7 separate regions of the Homo sapiens genome follow, and all the other regions are linked to region 1. The links are contacts of gene promoters, found by promoter capture Hi-C in blood cells and fetal thymus (Javierre and others, 2016). All regions are on one chromosome and are shown on one strand. Each heading gives the region's core, a stretch centred on a gene start or on the middle of the fragment in contact. The rest is flanking DNA. Distances are from core to core; before and after follow the strand shown. Region 1 holds the start of RTL1 (retrotransposon Gag like 1). Region 2 overlaps LINC02320 (long intergenic non-protein coding RNA 2320). Region 3 has its middle 64 kb from the start of DIO3. Region 4 overlaps LOC105370673 (a long non-coding RNA gene). Region 5 overlaps LINC03117 (long intergenic non-protein coding RNA 3117). Region 6 holds the start of LINC02314 (long intergenic non-protein coding RNA 2314). Region 7 has its middle 8.8 kb from the start of LINC00524.

Region 1 (2,887 bases), core at 227-2,726:
CTCTGCAGGCTGTGGGCTCCCTCTCTTTTCAGTCCTCTCCTTTCTGTGCTGAATGGCAATACCCCCACCAATGGTGGGAACAGGATTGGGCGCCTCTACACCTGTCCTAACACCTCTGTCTCTGTTCTTTTAGACCTGGGACAGAGCCCTTTGCCCTGCTGTTCTGCTAAAAGCCCAGGGGAGGGCGTGGTGCTCCCCTCCTGGGGCCAGCTGCTCCATGTCTATCTGTTGAGCGGCTTCTCAGCCCTCTTGGGTTTTCTATGGCCCCTTTTCCAGTTGCTAGGGAGAACGCTCTGTATGCAGCCCCCTGCCTTTTCTGCAGGAGCTGCTGGCCTCCCGGCCAGCCCTGGTCAGCCCTGCAGTAGCAGCAGCAGCAGCAGCAGCAGCAGTAGGCAGCCACAGCAGGGCTGGGGGCTCCCGAGCCAGGCAGACCGGCTTGACTCCCTGCTCTCTAGCTGCAAGACAATTCCCTTTACTTTTCAGACTCGGCTTTTCCCCTGTGAAATGGAGATGAGAGTTTCTCCGTCACTGGCGTGAAGTGAGGACTAAATGAGATAAGTGTAGGCTTGCACACATCAGACACTTCATAAATGCTTGTGGAGTAGACGGTGGGACCCAGGGAGGGAGAGAGAGGTATGTAACAAGTGTCGCAAGAGAGAAAACAGCCTGGCCTTTCAAGACCCTGCTCCCAATACAAACGGGAACCTCTCCTGGCAGAGTCCCCTCTGCTGGCTTAATCGCACAAATCAAGTCAGCCGGAGGCAGCCCCCGGCCTGTGGAACTCACAGTAGATGCAGCAGGCAGCATAAATGACATGCAGAGCCCACATCTGCATTTAATAGACCGAGAATTTGCATTGTATATAACAGCACGAGGGGTAAAGCATGAAGGCATAAAGGAACAGTTTTTCCCGGCGGCTTCCTTGAAGGGCCAGCTTAGACAGGGGTCTGGGGAGGAGAAACTCAGCGGGGTCCGGGCATCCCATAGACTATGGGACAGACATCCATCCATGCACTCATTCTCCAAGCCACCACAGTGTACCTACCTTCCCCGGGCCCAGTCCCAAGCGTGAGGCTGGGGATGAAGTGATGCCGGTGGCTTAGTGATGCCGGTGGCTTCCTGTCCTCGAAGCTCAGTCGGTCTGGTGGGGGAAACAAACAGGGAATAAGACACTGGAAATTGAGGTGATCAAGAGGGGGTGCAGGCATGGAGATTTATGGAGCCCCGTCTTGGAGCCAAGTCCCGAACTGGGCTGTCTGCAAAGAACTCACCCGGGCAATAACCCTGCACACTGGTCTCATGAGCCCCATTAGATTGATGAGGAAACTGAGGCACAGAAAGGCAAAGTCCTATACTCACCGTCTCTCAGCTGGTGTGAGGCTGGGCCAGGATGGAACCCCAGACTCTCCGAGGCTCCCCACCACACCCTGCTGCTGAAGGCTGCTCAGCGAGGCTGTGCCGAGTGCTGGGGGGGTGTGGGTGGGCAGGGGACGGATTGATTAGTTATAAGCACCTCCCAGCGGTGCTTGAGATCCCAGCTCCTCTGTGGCCCAATCCGTTTGAAGGGCAGATTCAAAATTAGGTGGTAGCACCTATGGGCAGAGGCTTATGAAAATGGCATTATTAACCTGATGTGGAGAGGGCCCTGCCTGTCTGCAAGTAGATTGCAGATAGAGACGGAGGGGGCTGGGCTTGTTTGTGTGGACAGTGAGTTAGAGAGGACAGAGAACATCCAGGGGCCCTCCAGGGCTTCCGGACGGGGAGAACCAGATCTGGAGGGGCTGGACAAGTGGGAGGGGGAAGAGGGGTACGTCTTAAGGGTGCCCCGGCACCTCAGGGAAATGCCCCAGGCTGGACTTGGAGGAGGATCTCCAGCCTTGACTCTGACACAGACAGGGACTATGGCCCTCCCCGCACCTCGGTTTCCCATCTGTGAGATAAGAGATGGAAACCAAACGTCATTTCGAGAAAAGCCCCCATTCCCACCACCCTCCTGGCCCCCCCCTTCCCCCACCACCCCAATCACGTTTGCCAGACACCTGTCTGCTTGTCAGAGCAATATTCAACAGGAGAGTTCCTTCGCTTCCTCCCTGGAGGGAGAAGGGAGAGGTGTGGACGGGGAGAGGGGAGGGGAGAGGTGCCCCCCACTCAGAGAGGCCGCTGAGCAGAGTTCTGCATCGGGTAGGAGTTGGGCCACCGAAGATTTGTGCCAACTCACGGTGCGGTGGAATCAGACAGTCTGAATTCTTCAGACACCAGCCAAGAGTCTGTGGCGCCCCCACGTGCCACAAGGGGGCTGCCTGGGCCACATTTCTGAGCCCGAAAAGTGAGGAGGGGGACAGTCAAGAGGGACCGGCGCTTTTGCTCTGGCAGCGGCGCTTTTAACTGCGACAGATGCGTGCGGTGCGGCGGGGGAGCCGGCCGTGCCGGGGCTGGGGGCTGCTGGGCGGGGGTGGTCGGGGCGGGGGGCGGGGGCTGCAGGTTGCGCCCCTCCCTCACAGACGGCTGCGCTGCAATGCAGCAGGCTGCGGGAGCTGTCCCGGGAGCTGTCCTGTCCGGTGGCCGGCTTTCCAAAGTGGGGAACGAGAGATGAGGGAGGGAGCACTTCCAGGCGCTGCGTGGTGGCCAGGCGCCCAGGAAGCCGAGGGGCCCGAGACTCTGCAGCGGGGCCAGAAAGAGAAGAGTGGGGGAGGAGGCCGGGAGTGGTGCATGGACCAGGGGGTAGAGGGAGGTGGGTGTGGACCTGGGGTCGGGCGCCAGTCAGCTTGCAGCCTATGAAGGACGGAAAGGAGGGCTACAGAGATAGGGGAAGAGTGGGGCTGAGGATAGCCAGAGCGGCTTGGCACACAGTTTTAGGGTAAAAGCATCAACTCTTATCTTTCCAAAA
Region 2 (2,887 bases), core at 103-2,602, 750 kb after region 1:
CAGATTTTCAATGTAAATGAAACGGCCTTATATTGGCAGAAGATGCCATCTAGAACTTTCATAGCTACAGAAGAGAAGTCAATGCTGGCTTGAAACATCAAAGGACACGCTGACACTCTTGGCAGGGGCTAATGCAGCTGGTGACTTTGAGTTGAATCCGGTGTTCATTTACCATTCTGCAAATCCTAGGGAATTATGCTAAATCTACTCTGCATGTGTTCTCTAGATGGAACAACAAAACCTGGATGACAGCACGTTTACAGCATGGCTTACTGAATACTTTAAAGCCACTCTTGAGACCCATGCTCAAATTTCTCTCAAAATATTACTGTTCATGACAGTGCCTGTAGTCAACCAACAGCTCTGATGGAGGTGTACAAGGAGATTAATGTTTTTATGCCTGCTAGGACAACGTCCATTCTGCAGCCCATGAGTCAAAGCGTAATTCTGACTTTCAAGTCTTGTTATTTAAGAAACACGTTTCATAACACTATAGCTGCCGTAGGTATGCTTCCCCTGATGGAGCTAGGCAAAGTAAATTGAAAACTTTCTGGAAAGAATTCACAATTCTAGATGCCATTAAGAACATTTGTGATTCATGGGAAGAGGTCAAAATAGCAGCATTAACAGGAGTTTGGGCGGGCACAGTGGCTCGTGCTTGTAATCCCAGCATTTTGGGAGGCTGAGGAGGGCGGATGGCTTGAGTCCAGGAGTTTGAGACCAGCCTGGACAACATGGTAAAACCCCATCTCTACTAAAAATGCAAAAATTAGCTGGCTATGGTGCCGTGCACCTGTAGTCCCAGCTACTTTGGGGGCTGAGATGGGAGGATTACCTGAGCCCAGAAGTCGAGGCTGCAGTGAGCCAAGATCACACCACTGACCTCCAGCCTGGGTGACAAAGTGAGACCTTGTCTCAAAATAAAACAAGAGTTTGGAAGACGTTGGTCCCGACCCTCATGGATAACTTTGAGGGGTTCGAGACATCAGTAGAGGAAGGAACTGCAGATATGATAGAAATAGCAAGAGAACCAGAATTATAAGTGGAGCCTAAAGATGTGACTGGATTGCTACGATCTCATGAGAAAACTTGAACAGATGAGGAGTTGGTTCTTATGGCTGAGCAAATAAAGTGGTTTCTTGAAATGGAATAACTCCTGGTGAAGATGCTGTGAACACTGTTGAAATGACAACAGAGGATTTAGAATATTCCATAAACCCAGTTGATAAAACAGTGGCAGGCTTTGAGAGGACTGACTCCAATTTTGAAAGTTCTACTGTGGGTAAAATGCTGCCAAATAGCATCACAAGCTACAGAGAAATCTTTCATGAAAGGAAAAGTCCATCAATGTGACAAACTTCATTCTTGTTTCATATTAAGAAATTGGGCCAGGCACAATGGCTCATGCCTGTAATCCTAACACTTTGGGAGGCCAAGTGGGGAATATCACTTGAGGCCAGGAGTTCCAGACCAGCCTGGACAATAAAAAGAGACCTTGACTCTACAAAAAAATTAAAGAAATCAGCCAGACACAGTGGCACATGCCTGTAGTCCCAGTTACTCAGGAGGCTAAGGTGGGAGGATCCCTTGAACCCAGGAGTTTGAGGTTGCAGTGAACTATGATTGTGCCACTGCATGCTAGCCTGGGTAAAGAGTGAGACCCTATCTCAAAAAAAAAGAAAGAAAGAAATTGCCACAACCACTGCCAGTAACCACCACCCTGATCAGTCAACAGCCATCAACATCAAGGTAAGATCCTCCACCAGCAAAAAGACTATGACTTGCTGAAGGCTCAGATGATAGTTAGCATTTTTAGCAATGAAGTATTTTGAATTAAGATATGTACATTGCTTTTTAGATATCATGCTATTGCACACTTGAAAGCTACAGAATAGGGTAAACATACTTTTATTTGTTCAGGGAAACCAAAAAAATCATGTGACTCACTTTATTGCAATATCCATTTTATTGTGGTGATCTGGAACCAAACCCACAATACCTCAGAGGTATGCCTGTATTGATATGACTTGAATCATTTTAAATATGTTGAGATTTGTTTTATAGCTCACAATATAGTCAAATATGGTAAACATTCTGTATTTTTAAAAAAGTGTGTCCTCCTGTTGTTGAGTAGAGTGTCCTATAAATGTCAATTAGTTCAAGTTATCAATAGCATTGTTCAAGTTTTCATATTCATACTGACTTTCTATCTAATTGCTCTCAAAAATTATTGAAAAAGAGGTATTGAAATCTCTGATTTTCACTGTGTCTATTTCTCCTTCTGGTTCTATCAGATTTTCTTCATGCATTTTAGAGCTCTTTTGTTAGGTGCATTAACATTTAGAATTGTTTTTGTTCTCTTGGTGAATTGAAATCTTTATCATTATGAAATTGGCTTCCTAGCCATTTGTGGTGGCCCACACCTGTAATCCTAGCACTTTGGGAGGCTGGGGTGGGTGGAACACTTTGAGCTCAGGAGTTCAAGGTCAGCCTGGACAACATGGAGAAACCCTGTCTCTACAAAAAATACAAAAATGAGCCAGGCATGGTGGCTTATGCCTGTGGTCCCAGCTACTCAGGAGGCTAAGGTTGGAGGATCACTTGGCTCGGGAAGCGGAGGTTGCAGTGAGCCGAGATGGCAACACTGCACTCCAGCCTGGGTGACAGAGCGAGACCCTGTCTCAAAAAAAAAAAAAAAAAAAGAAAGAAAAGAAAAGAGGAGAGAGAGAGAGAGAGAAAGAAATTAGTGTCCTTATCCTTGGTAAAAATCTTCTGCCTTAAATCTTTTTTTATATTAATCCAGTTATTCCAGGCTTATTTTGAATAGTGTTAGCATGGCATACTGCTTTTCATTCTCTTACTTTTCATCTATTTCTGTATTTAAAGT
Region 3 (2,887 bases), core at 284-2,783, 720 kb after region 1:
CCACTGTCCACTTTCCCCTCCGCTGGCCTGAGCACTCCTCAAACTCACCAGGCAACTCCTGCCTCAGGGCCTGTGCGCTTGCTGTTCCTGGAATGTCCTCTCTTCTCTCTCTTCCCCCTCCCATCCCCAGGCACATTGTATGGTCCCTGTATTCATTCCATTTAAATATCTCCTCTCCAGCCTGGCTCCTGTGGGACCCCCCTTCCCGTTAGTCTCCATCCCGTCACCCAGATTTTCTCCGCAGCACTGCACCTTCACCCTGCATTCGGTCATGATCGCACTGCTCACTGTCTGCCTCCCTCTCTAGATTGTCAGCGCCCTGAGATCAGGATTCTGACCTTCTTGTTCACAACTGGAACCCCAGTGCCGAGAAGGGGCCTGCTGTGAGCAGGGCAGAGCATGTGCACCCACTGAGTGAGCGAGTGACCATTGCAGCCTCACTCCTGCGCTGCATTCCGCAGCATTCTTTCACATCCATGGTTTCCCCCGAGGCCCCTCAGGAACAAAGGCTCAGAGAGGGTGGGAGAAGTGTGCAGGGTCACACGTGCTTCCCCTCCTCCCTTTATGGGGTCCTGTGGAGGAAGGGGAGGCCTGACTGCACACTGCAGAGGCCAGGGCAGGGCAGAGAGACTCCCACGCATGCTACTCCAGGGATGGGGCCTGGAGGGAGGCTCCCGTGCGTGCTAGTCCAGGGCCTGTGGAGGAAGGAGACGCCTGACCTCACACTGCAGAGGCCGGGGCAGGGCAGGGAGATTCCTGTGCATGCTACTCTAGGGATGGGGCCTGGATTCTTCAGTGGGTCCCTGGGCAAGTCAGGCTCCCTAAATGCCCCACTGTAGGTGCCTGCAGTAACAAGAACAAGAAGGGCAGGGCATGCAGCAAAGCCACAAGGCACAGGCTGCGCACACCTACTGGCTGTGACCCTGAGCAAGTTACATAACTACTCTGTGCCTCAATGCTCTCATCTGTAAAGTGAGAGTAACAATTTCTGCCTACCTGACAGGGCTAAGGGAGGATTAAATGAACCAATATCTGAAAGTTCTCAGCATGATGCCTGGCCGATGAAAAAAACCTCAGAAAGTGTTAGTACTACTACTACTAATAATAATAATAAGCAATAACAATGAAGAGTTCATGGCCCCGTGACAGTGGTGCCTGGCACTGACCTCTGTGTTTGTTCTAATTCTCTCAAGACCCCTGAGAATAACTGCCACACAGATGTCAGCACAGGGGCTGGGCCTCCCTGCCCACTTTCTGCTTCCCAGAAAGTGGCCAACTTCCCCCTGGCCAACTATGCTTTCTAGCCAATATGTAAGTTATGGCTTTTCCTCTGTGGCTCAGCATAGGGAGCAGGGCAGGAGAAAGGCAGGGACTCCACCAAGGTCACACAAAGAGTGCCAGTGGGGCCTGGTCCACCCTTCTCAGGAAGGTCTGAGCTCCCTGTCCTGTGCTCCCATAATACCTAACCTTCACCTTGCAGATGAGTCACTGCAACTGTGCTTGCTCTTTAAGGTCTACCTTGCCTGTAAAAGCCAGAGCTGTTCATGCAAAATTTCCTGCACCTGGGCCTGAGTCAGAGTTGGTTCTCAACCAATATTTTTTAGTGGATGAGTAGGTAGGTGGATGGATGGATGATTGGATGGATGGATGGATGGATGGATGGATGGATGGATGCATGGATGCATGGACTGACAGATGGATAGGTGGATGGATGGTTAAGTAGGTGGGTGGATGGATGGATGGATGGATGGATGGATGGATGGATGGATGGATGGATAGATGGATGGATGCATGGATCGACAGATGGATAGGTGGATGTATGGTTAAGTGGGTGGGTGAATGGATGGATGGATGGATGGATAGATGAGTTCCAGTGTGAATGGATGGGTGGATGGATAGGTGGATGAGTCCTGAGATGAATGGATGGGTGGAGGGTAAGTGGATGAGTTCCAGAATGAATAGGTTTGTGGATGAGTTTGTGGATGGGTTGTGGCTGGGTAGACTTCAGAGACAGCACTCTCCTGGGACATATCATTGAGCCTTTCCCCATAATCTGAAACACAAGGAGGCTTCAATGGTGTGGGATCCAAATGGGATCCAAAAAAGATTCTAAAACCTTCTGAGTCAAGTGCATTTGGCCTCAGTGGGCCTCAGTCTATCCATCATGAAGTTGTGAGAAGAGGACCAGCCTGCCTGTGTTTCACGATTCCCGGGATGAACCCTCCTTAAAGGAGAGGTACAGTAGCACCTTGAAAAGGGTAAGTGCTGCAAAGACCTGGTTTAGAGGATAATGTTAGCCCTGCCAAGGGTACCAAGGGTGCAGCAGGGAGACACGCCCTGCCAGGCCTGTCCTGGGAGCATGCACGGGTTTGCCCTGGCAGGCATGCAGGTAGAGGGAGACAGCCGCCCTCAAGGCACTCATGCCCTCTAACCCAGTAATTCCACTTCTAAGAATGGACCCTAAGGAGGTAGTCAAGGATTTCCAGAGAGACTCACCTATGAGTGTGGTCATTGCAGGGTCAGAAAAGGGAAGATGTCCATGTAATAACAGACTTCAGCGTAAATAACTCATTTCTCTACACTGCAGGGCACTCCTCCACAGCGGAATATTACGCAGCTGTTCAAAGTGGGTTTTTGAAGAATGACTACATGGCATGGGAAACTCTTAAAAGATTACTGGAAAAAAATCAAGATAAGACAAACTGCACGTGGAGTAAGATCTCATGCCTATTGGGAGGAAGTCTCTTTCTGAGTATTTGCTTGGGAAAAAAGTCCTCAATAGGTATATACCAGAACGCCTGGTTATCTCTAGGTGGGGGGATTATAGCGTTTTTTCTTCCTAGTAATTTTCCATATTATCCAAATTGCATTTCAGGGGTGCAGGCCA
Region 4 (2,887 bases), core at 151-2,650, 620 kb after region 1:
GGAGCCAAGAATCCCAACAGCATCGGGTCCCCTTGAGGATGACAGGGACCAACTTTTCTTTGCCATTTCCAGTCTTCAGTTGGCCTTGGACAGAGCCCAAGATCTCATGAGGAAGGAGCAGAGAGGCCTTTTGGTGTTGCTGCAAACATCATGGGGCCCAGAAAAAGACGTCACTGAGATCCTGGGACGGCAGCACTGGAAGGGCCTAGGACATCACAACCCCACCCTGCTCCATCTTGACCTCAGTTTCCCCATCACTGGAACCAAACATGAGCTCAGGCTCATGTCCCCGCAAGTCCCCAGTCACCCACCGTAACTGAGTGGGATGGAGACGGAGGGGTTCGTTTTGGGGGGCACCTTGAGAGGCCAGACATGACCAGGCCCTTCACGTACAGCGGGGCTGTTCCCCAACCTCCCACCTGGGACAGAGGCTGGTGGTGATGCCCCAGTTTGGCCTTCTTCACACCAGGAGTCACACAGATCTGGTGTCCAGCCCCTGCCCCATCACTTACAGCTGTGCGGCTTTGTGTAAGCACCTTGACCTCTCTGAGCCCGAGGCCACTGATGCGTGGAATGGGAATAAGTCATCACTAAGTGGACTTCAGAGTCTGCAGCGGCGCCCTAGATCACAGCGGCTCTGAGAAGGACTCAGAAACTGTGAAGGACGTGCACCTGGGAGGAATCCCAGCTACCAGGGCCGGGCTCGCCTTCCCTGAGCACGCAGTGATGTGAGGCGGGGGCTGGGGGTGCAGACCCAGCCTGGAAGCCCAGTCCTGCCGTTCGTTCGTCAGGTGTCTGCTCCTCTGAGTGCTCAGGGTGGGGCTAGAATGATACTGGAGACCAGCGCCAGGCCTGTGCCCCGCACACAGCAGGCGCTCGGGAAGTGCTCAACCAGAGCAGGCGCACGAGCAGAGCGGGCTTCAAGAAGCAGCCCAAACGCTACGCCCTGGAAACCTCCAGGCCCAAGAGGTCAGACCTGCAGAACCCAGGGAACCACGCAGCCCTAGCCGCAGCCCCACCTCAGGGTGACCCCTGGGCTGCCATTATGCCTGGAAACACTTGGACGGGTACCTAGCGGGGAGCTGTGGAGCTGTTTGTGGAAAGAAGTGAAACAATGGAAGCCAGCTCATTCTGAGCTGAGTCCCTTCTTCCAGAGTGGTGATTTAGAAGGAAAAAAACATTGCCCAAATCACAGCGGCAAAATCCTGCAATTGCCAGAGAAACAGAGGTCGGTGGCCAAGAAGGATTGCAACACAATGGCCTGGGAAGACGTTCACTCGTGCCAAGCCCTGAAGGACCGAAGCTCAGGGCACCTTCCTGGCTGCCTGGCCTGGCCCCGGGGCCTGGAACCTGGACCCCTCACCCTGGATGTTCAAGTTCTACCCCCAGGGATGGACAGCGTGCGACTAGGGTGGCCACAGGACTCCACAGTGTGCAAAGGGGTGCCCCGGGAGACTCCCGGAGCCTTTGAGCGTGGGGGTGGGGATGAGGACATCTAGAATCAGGAGGTGGGGGAGGGGCTCGGACAGGTTTCAGGGATGGCTAGGGAGCCAGCTGTCTGCCTCCACATTGGCACCAGCGGTCCAGAGCTGTGGGCAGGAAGCCTGGAGGAACTGAGAGGGGCGGGGGGCCCTGTTAGGAGACACGGGAGAAGGGAGGGAGCCGGGCATTGCATTCCTGGAAAGGGGCCCTTGGTCCATACCCCCCCAGACCCCCATGGCCCCAGCATTGTAGCCACAGCTCAGCCAGCCACCCCCGCCAGCCCTCCCACGGCAGGCCTTCCTGGCCATCCCCTGAACCGCGTGGGCCCGTGCTGCCAGGCTGCCCGGACTGGCCAGCTGAGCTAGGGATCATTTCCTGGACCCATTAATCACTGGATCGGGTTCCATGTCGGCAACAATAGCTCAACCCCAGGCCAGTTGGCCTCCGAGTCTGTCGACCCCCGCTCTGATGCCCCAGCTCTCCAGGTCTTGATCAAGGCGGTGGGGTTAAAAGTGGCCATCGTGACTGTGTGCTGCCCACTTACTGTGTGCAGGGCCTGGGAGATCCCAGAAGAGAATGAGGCCAGTGCCCAGTGAGGACCCGGGGGCTCATGTGGGACAGGGAGCTAGCAGGGATGTCTAACACACAGCAGCACCCACAGCTCGCAGGAGGGGCTGATACTCACCAACCCCACTCTGCCGTTACCTCCCTCCCCAAAACCCACATGTCTGATGCCCATGGCCCTCCACCAATAAAATACCGGAAAGGGAAAGGAAGGAAGAGGCTGCAAGTTCATCTGATGTCCAGACACTGGGTGTGGCAAGTTTCCCAGCAAGTGAGCTCACAGTTGGGAGTGGAAGCCCCCATCCTTCGGACCAAGGTCTTGAGAGCTGCAGCCTCAGGTGCCAGCCACGGCCATCACCCCTGCAGTCCACAGCTGCTGCCAGACAGTCTGAACTCCTGAGCGGAGTCTTGAGTCTCCGGGTGGGAGCAGAGCTGTTCTGGATGGCCAGTCTCTTCTAAGCAGGGTCTACAGAATCGTCCGTGGTGGGCAGTAGCCACTGTGGCAGGGCCTCCAGAGTGCAAGTGCTCAGATTTGTCCAGAAGCCCTGCCGGCCTCCAGAATCCTCAGGTGTGGAGGACATGGCATCTGCAGGCCTCGAAGGAGAGCAGGATGGAAGGGCAGGGGTTCCACTTCAGGTGTAAAGCACAGCCCAGGCAAAGCCAGGAGAAGGAGCTGTGCCCAGTTGAGAACCGGTGTTGTGGGCACACAGAGAGGGCTGCGGCTCGTGACAATGTGAGCAGTGGAGTCTGGGGCAGGGTCCCAGCGCCGTGGGCCCAGGAAGATCCCAGGAATGCTTGCACTATCCCGGAAGTGTTCCTTTGGGGCAGTGTGGGGTGGCAG
Region 5 (2,887 bases), core at 133-2,632, 560 kb after region 1:
GGTCTCAGGAGTACCCCAGCCTGCAGATAAGGAACCCTATGCAATGTATAAGGAAAGGAAAGCATGGCCCATGTGAGCACAGCATTAGGGCCTTGGAACTCCGTGTTTAGCACCCCCCATGCTGCAGCCAAACATTGACACCCCAAGTTCTAGGACCCCATGAGATGGTGCCTTGCCTAGCCAGCTGCGTTGATGTGTGGGAAGGGGCATGTTGCGGAAATCCTCCAGCAGGTCCTGGCTCCTGTCCTGTGCCCAGCACTGGCGTTCTTGTTCAGAGAACAAAGGCCCGGAGGCCCCTGCAGAACCAAGAAAGCCTGAAAGCCGTGGCTTTCAAAGCTTGCTGACCGTGGCTGGGGTAAGAAATACATTGTGCATCTCAGCCCACGGCAAGCCAGACAACTATGTATAAAATAATTAATTAACTATACCTAGATAACCAAAACACAATTTTTGCAAAAGAATGGTTCTCTTACTAGACGTCATGAATGCTGATCTCTGTTCATCCTATTTCTTTTTTCCAAATAATGGCTGCCACCCCTGAAACAATCCCATGATCCTAATGGGCTGCAGCGTGGAGCTTGCAGACCACCCTTTAGAGCTGAGGTTGTGTGGGTTAAGCCTGAGTGGAGGGAGACCCGCAGTTCCTTCCTGCTGCATCTCCTGCCCCCACTTCCAGCCCTGGAGTCAGAACCTCCTGCTGGAATCCTAGCCACCACTTCCTACTATGACATTGAGAGGCCACCTCCCCTCCTGAGCTGGAGCCTCTGCTTCTTCCTCTTAGAATGAGGAGGACAACTCCCTGCTAGGGTCTTAGAGAGGATTCAGCGAGATCATGTACCAGATGAGGTCTTGACTCAATGTGTCTGCCCAGGCTAGCACCTGACAGTCATCTGTCACTTTTGATCCTGTGCCTCCCTGGGGCCCAAGATGTCTTCTCCCCTACCCCCCAGTAGCCCTCCAGTAAAATCCTCCTCCCCCCTTCCAATTCCACTCCAGTCTTCTCCTTGGGCCAGCTCCTCCTCAAGCCCCACTGCAGATTTTGGGACTCACAGATCTGTGCAGCGCGGATTAAGGCCTGCCACCCTGGTGGACTCTCAGGCCTGGGCTCTGCCTGGCTCGCCGGCATTTATAGACACATGTCTGATTGCCAGTTAGCCCCGATCCAACCTCAACAGCACTGTGGACACAGAGGCTGTGCTTCTTCCCATTTGCAGATAAAGTATATGGGGCCCAGGAGGTATCATCATGTGACCGTGAGTCGCACAGTTAGTGGCAGAGCTGGGGTAGGCTAGCTCTCCTGGCCTTCAAAGACCATCATGCTCATGGCCCAGAGTCCTTCCTCCTGGCAGGGCACTAGGGCCCTTTCTGACAGGCTCGCAGCAACCAGATTTGTTCCCTGGCTGCCCACCTCCACGTCCTCCACCCTGGGAGAGCTGAGTTCGTTTTCCTTTGACTGTTTTTTTAATGCTTCCCTCAGGAGGCAGGCCACAGTCTTCCTGCACCACCCTCACGGGCTCTCACTGCTGGAGCAATGATTACTCACAGATTTACCCAAGGAGAGTGTGTACTTGGAATGGCTGTCCGTGTGTTCCCTGTGCACACACACACGCATACCCGCACATACACTGTGGTGACCTGACACACACACTTCCGTGATCTCACACACTCGTGCACACACACACACTGCCCTGATCTCACACAAACACACAAACACTGCCCTGATGTCACACACACACACTACCCTGATCTCACACACTCATGCACACACACACACACTGCCCTGATCTCATACACACACACACACACTCTGCCCTAATCTCACACAAACACTGCCCTTTGCCCTGATCTCTCTCTCTCACATACTGTCCTGATCTCACACACTCATGCACACAAACACACACTGCCCTAACCTCACACACAGACACACACACACTGCCCTGATATCATACACACACACACAGACACACACATACTGCCCTGATATCACACTCATGCACACACACTGCCCTGATCTCACACACTCATGCACACAGACACACTGCCCTGATGTCACACACACACACACACGCACACTGCCCTGATCTCACACATACACATACACACTGCCCTGATCTCTCTCACACACCCACTGCCCTGATGTCACACACACACACACACACACACACTACCCTGATCTCACACAATCATGCACACATACACACACTTCCCTGACCCTATCACTCTGCACATTGGAGCTAAGCTCATGAAGGCTGCTCATGCATTTTATTTGGCAAGTCTCTCTCACATCTTTAATCACACTAGCCTGCCCACTGCCAATCAATAAAGATTAGGAAATCGATTGCTAACTTACTCTTGGGTTAGATAATAAAATTGTTTGAAACATGCACCTGGAGGAATTTATCTGTGAAGAGTCCTTTCAGAGTTTGTTTCAAGCTTTGCAAGTCTCTCATGGCTCTGAGGTCGGGGAGGCTGTGAGGGATCCTCCACGCCCAGCAGACGTGGAAGGAGCCGACGTTCTTACGGGAGATGGACAGACGGTCAGCATGTGAATAGTCCCCTGCATGCAGGTGAGGACTGGGGCAGTGCAGAGCCGCAGCAGGGATGGGCTATGCCTGGGAGCCGCCAGCTCTGGATCAGGTGGCCAGGGACGGTCATGCTGAAGAGGAAGGCTCCAGTGAAGCTCTGGAAGAATGTTCTGGTGCCTGTATGTACAAAGGCCCCCCTAATTCAGGACCTGGCCCTGTACAGATGAGGAGCAGGAAGGAGCCAGTGTAACTGAGGCCAGTGTGGCTGCAGCAAGGGGCTGGAGGCGTGAGAAGAAACAGAAAAGAACGGAGGGCCATTTCTGCCTCCCCAGTCCGGATCATCCTCCTCCTCCACCCCAGAG
Region 6 (2,887 bases), core at 268-2,767, 540 kb after region 1:
AGTATGATTTTTTCAGAGAATTTGATTTTATCCAATTTCCACCATGCTAAGCAAAAACACTAGACTGTGAGATCCCGAAGGGCAGCAGCCCCGTGACCCTCATGGTTCTGGCACATGGAAGGTATTCAAAGCATGAGATGGAAATTGCTTTTTGAACTCTGTGCCTTAGGCAGTTAACATGCAAGCAAAGATAAGATGCCTTCGGCAGGGGAGGCTATGACAACCAACGAGAAAAATGGAAAAACACCAATTGGATGGGTCTGCAGTTGATCACTTGCTCTTCCTTGGTCAAGTTCATGAGCCTGTCTCCTGTTTCGAGGATACATGCTTTTATAAATGTTAAATAAGCTAACACTGCTGAAAGGGCATTGCTAATGGAGGTCTGTGGAAATAGAGGGAAATATTTCTAATTAGAAGGTATGGATTGGGCACTCACTGTGTGCCAAGCACTACAGTGGACCCTGAAATGAGTCAGCCACAGACTCGGTCCTCCAAGATCCCCGCTCCTCCAGCTCCATTCATTTTAGCCCGATGCAATGAGGCTTCTTTCTGCCTTCAGGAATTGCTTGGGCAATGGTTCCCAGGACCTTCTGACTCAGAGGATTCCACAGACTTTTCAGCCCTTTCTTCTGGGAGGTCTCCGTGGCCTTCCCACCACTGCCTCAGTCTTGTGGTGGTGCCGCTCCCCATGGGGGCTTCTCCCACCCTCCCGGCTGCTCCTCCCCCACCTCCTGAGCCCACCTCTAGAGGCTGGGTCATCTCGGGCTGTTCCTGCGGTCTCTTCTGCTCTCTAAATACCCACTGTCCAGGAACGCCCACCCTGCGGTGGCCTCAGCTCCCACCTACAAGCCCAGGACTTTTCTCCCAAGTCCTAATCTTATTAAATATGCTGCCTGCCTGCAGGCTGTATTCACCAGCCATCTTCTCGCCTTCGCCCAGGAGTTGATACCACCACTGAGAGGGCACTGCCAAGCACCTATGCAGGGAGGCCCGGGTCCCTCTGGGCCCTGTCCGGGCCACATCCTCAGCATTTCTCTCCGTCTCAACAGCTCAAGCCCTGTGGTACCTCTTGCTGAGCCTCTGGGGTTCTCCCAGAAGGCCAGCCCCACCCTCGTCTGACCCCACAGTCCTGCCTCTCCAGTGCGGCTAGACTGTCTTCCCCAGCTGACGCCCATCTGCGGTTCCCCACGGCCAGTCTCAACAGTCTCCTGCCTGCACCCACTCCTCAGCCTTCTCCATTGGAGGCTCCCCTCCTCAGACACACAGGCCTGTCTGCTGCCCCATCGTCTCTGCGCAGGCTGCTCTCTCGGTGTCCCTGGCCCATGCCCACTCCACGCTCCAGGGCTCAGCCTCCTCTCCCGCTCTCCACCCCACCCTTCGTCTCCTGCCCTCCACCCCACCCCTCCTTTCCCGCCCTCCACCACACCCCTCCTCTCGGGCTCCTGGGCACCCCCCCGCCACCTGCGTCTCCTGTCGTCAGCAAAATGCACTATTTGCTCATCCAGTGCCCACAGTTTGCCCACCGGACGGCCCTGCTAGGTGGGAAGCTCCTTGCAGGCAGGAACCCCATCTCCTTGACTTTACTTTGGAATCCCCGCAGCCTCATACGGGGCTGAGGCAGGTCCTTCCGTAAAATGGAACTGAATGAGCGGCGCTTAATCCATCCGCCAAAGGCCAGTCTCCCTTGGGTTTTCAACAGGTAACATGAGCTTTTAAAAATGAGTCTTGTTAAATGAAGTGCCCTGATTTTCAAAGTTATGCCCACACAGAACGACAGGGCAGGGGCTCCCTTCCAGAATGACAGAGCCCTGGGGCTCGTCTGACCACTTCTCCACCCCCAGATTCCTCTCATCACCCGATGCCTTTACTTTGGGACTCTTCCAGGTCGTTCCTCACCTCGTGCAGCATTGCTGTGAGTGGGCGACAAGGAACCTCGTGGTCTCCGTGTGCTTTGCGGGGACCACCTCTTCGCAGGGGCCGCCACCTGCCTCTCCGGCGCTGCATCCTTAGCATCCCCACTGCCCCCGGATCTCCTTCAGGGAGGTGCGGCGGCAGAGCGGCCCCAGCAGCCTCCTCCTGTGGCCCAGGCGCACCAAGGCGAGCGCGGCCACGAGTTCCGGCCCAGCGCCACCCAGACTCTTTGATGTGGGTTTGTGTGTGGGAGAGTAAAAGATGCACACACCCTCCGCAAGTCTAGAATTTGTGGTTTTTGTTATCTCACAACTTCATATTTGGAAGAAGTATTTTAATGTCTTATGAGTTGTGAATAATTATGTAATTCTGCCACTTTCTCAAAACCAAGATTTTTCAAACGGACTGCTCTAGTCTGGAGCTGACATCCTTAAGAGAACTTTGCTTTTTTTCCTGTGGGTTTTAAGCAAGAGTGTGCCAAATGAATTCTTTCGTCCGCTTAAAACAGTTCATTAGGGGGAACCATCCTGTAAAAGGAAAGGAAAGGAAAGGAAAATCCTTCCTTCTTCAAATGAATTCTCAAAAATTACTTCTGAGATGCAAATGCTGCCTGAGTGTTTGAGCTCCGTGAGAGAGTCCACTTCCCAACTTGTTTTCAGTCTGCTGTTGGGTGCTACTGAATTTCTTAAACATTGTGTTTCTCCCTTATCTGTGAATTAGCCATGTGTTCTTTGGAATCTCTTCCTGGGTCTTCGTTATTCTTCCTCAGTTATTTAAGAACCTAGGGAAGGCCCGGCGTGGTGGCTCACGCCTGTAATCCCAGTACTTTGGGAGGCCGAAGCGGGCGGATCACCTGAGGCCGGGAGTTTGAGACCGGCCTGACCGACATGGAGAATCTAAAAATGCAAAATTAGCCGGGCGTGGTGGCGGGCGCCTGTAATCCCAGCTACTCGGGAGACTGAGGCAAGAGAATCGC
Region 7 (2,887 bases), core at 176-2,675, 510 kb after region 1:
TCACCTATAAAATGGGGCCTCAGAGAGCCATTATGAGGTTTACATGGGATAATAAGGTAATTTGACCCAGGTAAAGCACTTAGAATAGTACCTGGCTCATTGAAGCATTCATTAAATGTTAGCTCATATTGTAGATTTACATTATAGACATTATCTGACAACACTCTGCACAGCCCGCCCCCCCTTGGAAATGTGAACTTCATGTGGTACATTTTAGCATTGCTTCTCTTCGCCGTCCAGAGCAACATGATATACACAAAAGAGTCAGTAGACAGCAGTCCGGAGACTTGAGCTCTGAGCTCCGCTGAGATGCCACTAAGCTTCAGGATGGAAGACAACACTTTTCTCTATGCCTCATTCCAGGACTCAAATTATAAAAGAAAGGGTTTACTAAGCTGATCCCTATGGTTCCTTCTAGCATATAAAAGTTATGATCATCTGAATATTATAAAGCAATAGATGAAGTTTGGGCTGTGTTTAGTAAACAATCTCTATGTTTTTATGGTTAGGATTTTATTCTGAGGCTAGAATTCACACAAAAACGTCCAGTATCGACAGAGAAGGAATCCAATCCATTTCATTGGAACAAAGAACAGCCTTAGAGATTTTTCAAGAAGTTTCAGGCCGAGTCACCCAGTCTCCCAGTCTACCGTATAACTGCTGGTTGAAGCTGGAGAGAAGACATTAGTGGCTCATGCACAAACTTTAAAGCTTAATTTATGTGAGAACATAAATTGATACAACCTCACTACTATGAGATTAAATAATATGTATCAATAGTCTAAACAATACACAGTAATTATGTTTCTAGGAATCTCTCCTGAGGAAATACAATTAAAGTGGGAAATTAGATAATAGGGATTAGTAGTCTACAATAGTCTAAACTATACAAAGTAATTACATTTCTAAGACTCCTGAGGAAACACAATTAAAGTATCCTTTTTTCATGCTTTTGGGACCAGCAATTGGAGAATCTGCCCAGCTCATTGAAAAGCCAGTTAAATAGGGAAATCTTAAACAATGGTGCAAATATACCATAAATACGTTGTTATAAGTTACAATATAAAAATATGAATTTTCTCACCAGTCTTGCAATAAAGGACCAAGGCTCTTCTCTGAGTATCACTCATGTTCTGATTGGAATTATGTGCCCTCTTTCTTGCACAAAACACGCCTATATAATTCATGCTCTTAATTTTGAGTTTTGGTTTCTTTAAAGTGGAACACAAACTTAAATATTTGGAGGACAATGTGACAGTAGACACTTTCTCCATTTTACCATTTTATTTTCTCAAATTGTTCAGTTTCCTGGCTCATAATCTAGTTTTATAGCAACTGTATTATTACTTCACTTTATTGCATCTCCCCAAAGCATTCTACTTAGTTTTTATAGTTTATATGGAAGCAACCACCCTCTTTCTTTTCTCACTCATATTTCACAGGTTAGTATTCCAACCAATGACATCACAACAACTGTCATAAACAGGTTTGAGAACAAACACGGTAATTAACTCTTGGTAAGCCCATATTCCAAATAGTGGGAGAAGGAAGACTGAGGCTTCCCGATGCAAGCGGCATATTTACCGAAGGCATAGAAGACGTCAGCGAATCCAGCAAAACAATGCAGGGAAACAGTGATTATGAGGGTTCCTTCTGTAGTCAAATATGTCATCAAAGGTTTATGTTTAAAGATGTTTGAACATCTGGAATAGTAACTGATGCTGGCAGAAATATAGAAACTATATAAGTTTACAATGAGAAAATAGCTAAGTAACATAAAACATATGATGAAATGGTATGTAGACATCAAAAACTGCATTTTAAAAACTATTTTATGATATAGAAGATGCCCATATTATGATCTAATGTATAATTCAATAAAGATTTACCAAGCAATAGAAAATTTTGTAAATTCTGAAAAAAAAGTCTATTTTCTATCTTTCTTATAAAAACCAAAGTGGGCCAGGACTTGGAAAACGGGACTGATGTCATGTTGAACTCCTCGCTTCCTTTGACCTTGATCTATTTGGAGTTTAGGCATTGTTTTTAAGAAGAAAACATGCCGCGCAGGTTCTCTAATAATAAAATGCACATAACCTCAAGAAAAGGTGGGGTCATTTTTCTTCTTATATGGCCAAGTAAGCTTCTCCTAGACCTTCCTGCAGATAACCACTATCAACTTTGGATAAAAATATAAAATAAGGCTTCTGTTCACTAGACTGTGAGTAAAAAGCAGGAAGACTCTAGCAGCAAGCTAGAGGAAAAAAAATGCCAAGAGGTGAAATTCCCATTTTTATAGCTTTTAGCCTGAGGGCATGTCAAAGTTGTCACCATGTAAGTGAGTGAATCTCTAAAAGAAAACGTTTTGTTTTTCTGGGCTGAAGACAACAGAGTTCAGAACAACTAGGGTCACTGGAGGATGAGGGAGTAATTCTGGAAAAGAGACAAGCACAGAAGAAGCACCCCAAATTTTCTAAGTGAAATCTGAACCTTATATGTGAGAGGTGGATTCAAAGCAGCTAAACTAAGTGTAAAAAACTGAACTAAAATTCAAACTGCTCCAGGGGAAAGAGTTTTCAGTTTGAGTCCAATCAAATTAATTATCTGCCCTTTGAAAAAATCAGTGTTCTTCCGAGAAATATAACAGAATCCAGATGGCATTCACAATGTCCAGGATACGATCCAAAATTACACAACAGAGGAGAGACAAGAAAATGACCTATCCACAAGGGAAAAATAATAGATGAAGACCAATTCTAAAATGACCCAAATGTAAAAATTATTAAACGAGAATTTAAAAGTAAGGACAGAAGTGAAAATATGTTCTCCATGCCTGTAAAGATGGAAAGCATCATCAGATAAATAGAAATTATAAAAAGGAATCAAA

What was found. The method cuts DNA at HindIII sites, captures the fragments that hold promoters and counts their contacts. A CHiCAGO score of 5 or more calls a contact.
Region 2: a contact is called between a fragment that was not itself captured here and the fragment with the promoter of RTL1 in region 1, in 10 of 17 cell types (M2 macrophages, erythroblasts, naive CD4 T cells and 7 more). The highest score is 8.3, in M2 macrophages.
Region 3: a contact is called between a fragment that was not itself captured here and the fragment with the promoter of RTL1 in region 1, in 15 of 17 cell types (naive B cells, naive CD4 T cells, total B cells and 12 more). The highest score is 17.2, in naive B cells.
Region 4: a fragment that was not itself captured here is called in contact with the fragment with the promoter of RTL1 in region 1 in 1 of 17 cell types (naive B cells); the score reaches 5.6 in naive B cells.
Region 5: a fragment that was not itself captured here is called in contact with the fragment with the promoter of RTL1 in region 1 in 1 of 17 cell types (M0 macrophages); the score reaches 5.2 in M0 macrophages.
Region 6: the fragment with the promoter of LINC02314 here is called in contact with the fragment with the promoter of RTL1 in region 1 in 2 of 17 cell types (M1 macrophages and M2 macrophages); the score reaches 6.7 in M1 macrophages.
Region 7: a contact is called between a fragment that was not itself captured here and the fragment with the promoter of RTL1 in region 1, in 1 of 17 cell types (M2 macrophages). The highest score is 6.7, in M2 macrophages.

Annotation. Positions count from the first base shown.
Region 1 is chr14:100,902,246-100,905,132 of GRCh38, forward strand. It overlaps RTL1 (retrotransposon Gag like 1), which reads right to left and starts at 1,477. Exons shown (of 4, transcript NM_001134888.3): 1 at 1,360-1,477; 2 at 1,046-1,141. All of the region lies in intron 5 of MEG8 (maternally expressed 8, small nucleolar RNA host gene), which reads left to right. The HindIII fragment of the contact is 7,837 bases long and covers 1-2,887 here.
Region 2 is chr14:101,655,627-101,658,513 of GRCh38, forward strand. The region is part of intron 1 of LINC02320 (long intergenic non-protein coding RNA 2320); the gene reads right to left. Among named protein-coding and RNA genes, the nearest start is that of LINC00239, 73 kb to the right of the region's middle. The HindIII fragment of the contact is 3,632 bases long and covers 1-2,887 here.
Region 3 is chr14:101,624,174-101,627,060 of GRCh38, forward strand. No RefSeq gene overlaps it. Among named protein-coding and RNA genes, the nearest start is that of DIO3, 64 kb to the left of the region's middle. RefSeq lists an enhancer at 1-176. The HindIII fragment of the contact is 4,222 bases long and covers 1-2,887 here.
Region 4 is chr14:101,519,904-101,522,790 of GRCh38, forward strand. LOC105370673 (a long non-coding RNA gene) reads right to left here. Exons shown (of 7, transcript XR_944222.2): 7 at 1,800-2,887. Among named protein-coding and RNA genes, the nearest start is that of DIO3OS, 39 kb to the right of the region's middle. RefSeq lists an enhancer at 2,367-2,887. The HindIII fragment of the contact is 5,992 bases long and covers 1-2,887 here.
Region 5 is chr14:101,461,898-101,464,784 of GRCh38, forward strand. LINC03117 (long intergenic non-protein coding RNA 3117) reads right to left here. Exons shown (of 4, transcript XR_944220.2): 4 at 2,246-2,887. Among named protein-coding and RNA genes, the nearest start is that of LINC03117, 12 kb to the right of the region's middle. The HindIII fragment of the contact is 2,097 bases long and covers 335-2,431 here.
Region 6 is chr14:101,440,559-101,443,445 of GRCh38, forward strand. LINC02314 (long intergenic non-protein coding RNA 2314) reads left to right here and starts at 1,518. Exons shown (of 2, transcript NR_135240.1): 1 at 1,518-1,699. The HindIII fragment of the contact is 14,900 bases long and covers 1-2,887 here.
Region 7 is chr14:101,415,329-101,418,215 of GRCh38, forward strand. No RefSeq gene overlaps it. Among named protein-coding and RNA genes, the nearest start is that of LINC00524, 8.8 kb to the left of the region's middle. The HindIII fragment of the contact is 1,432 bases long and covers 710-2,141 here.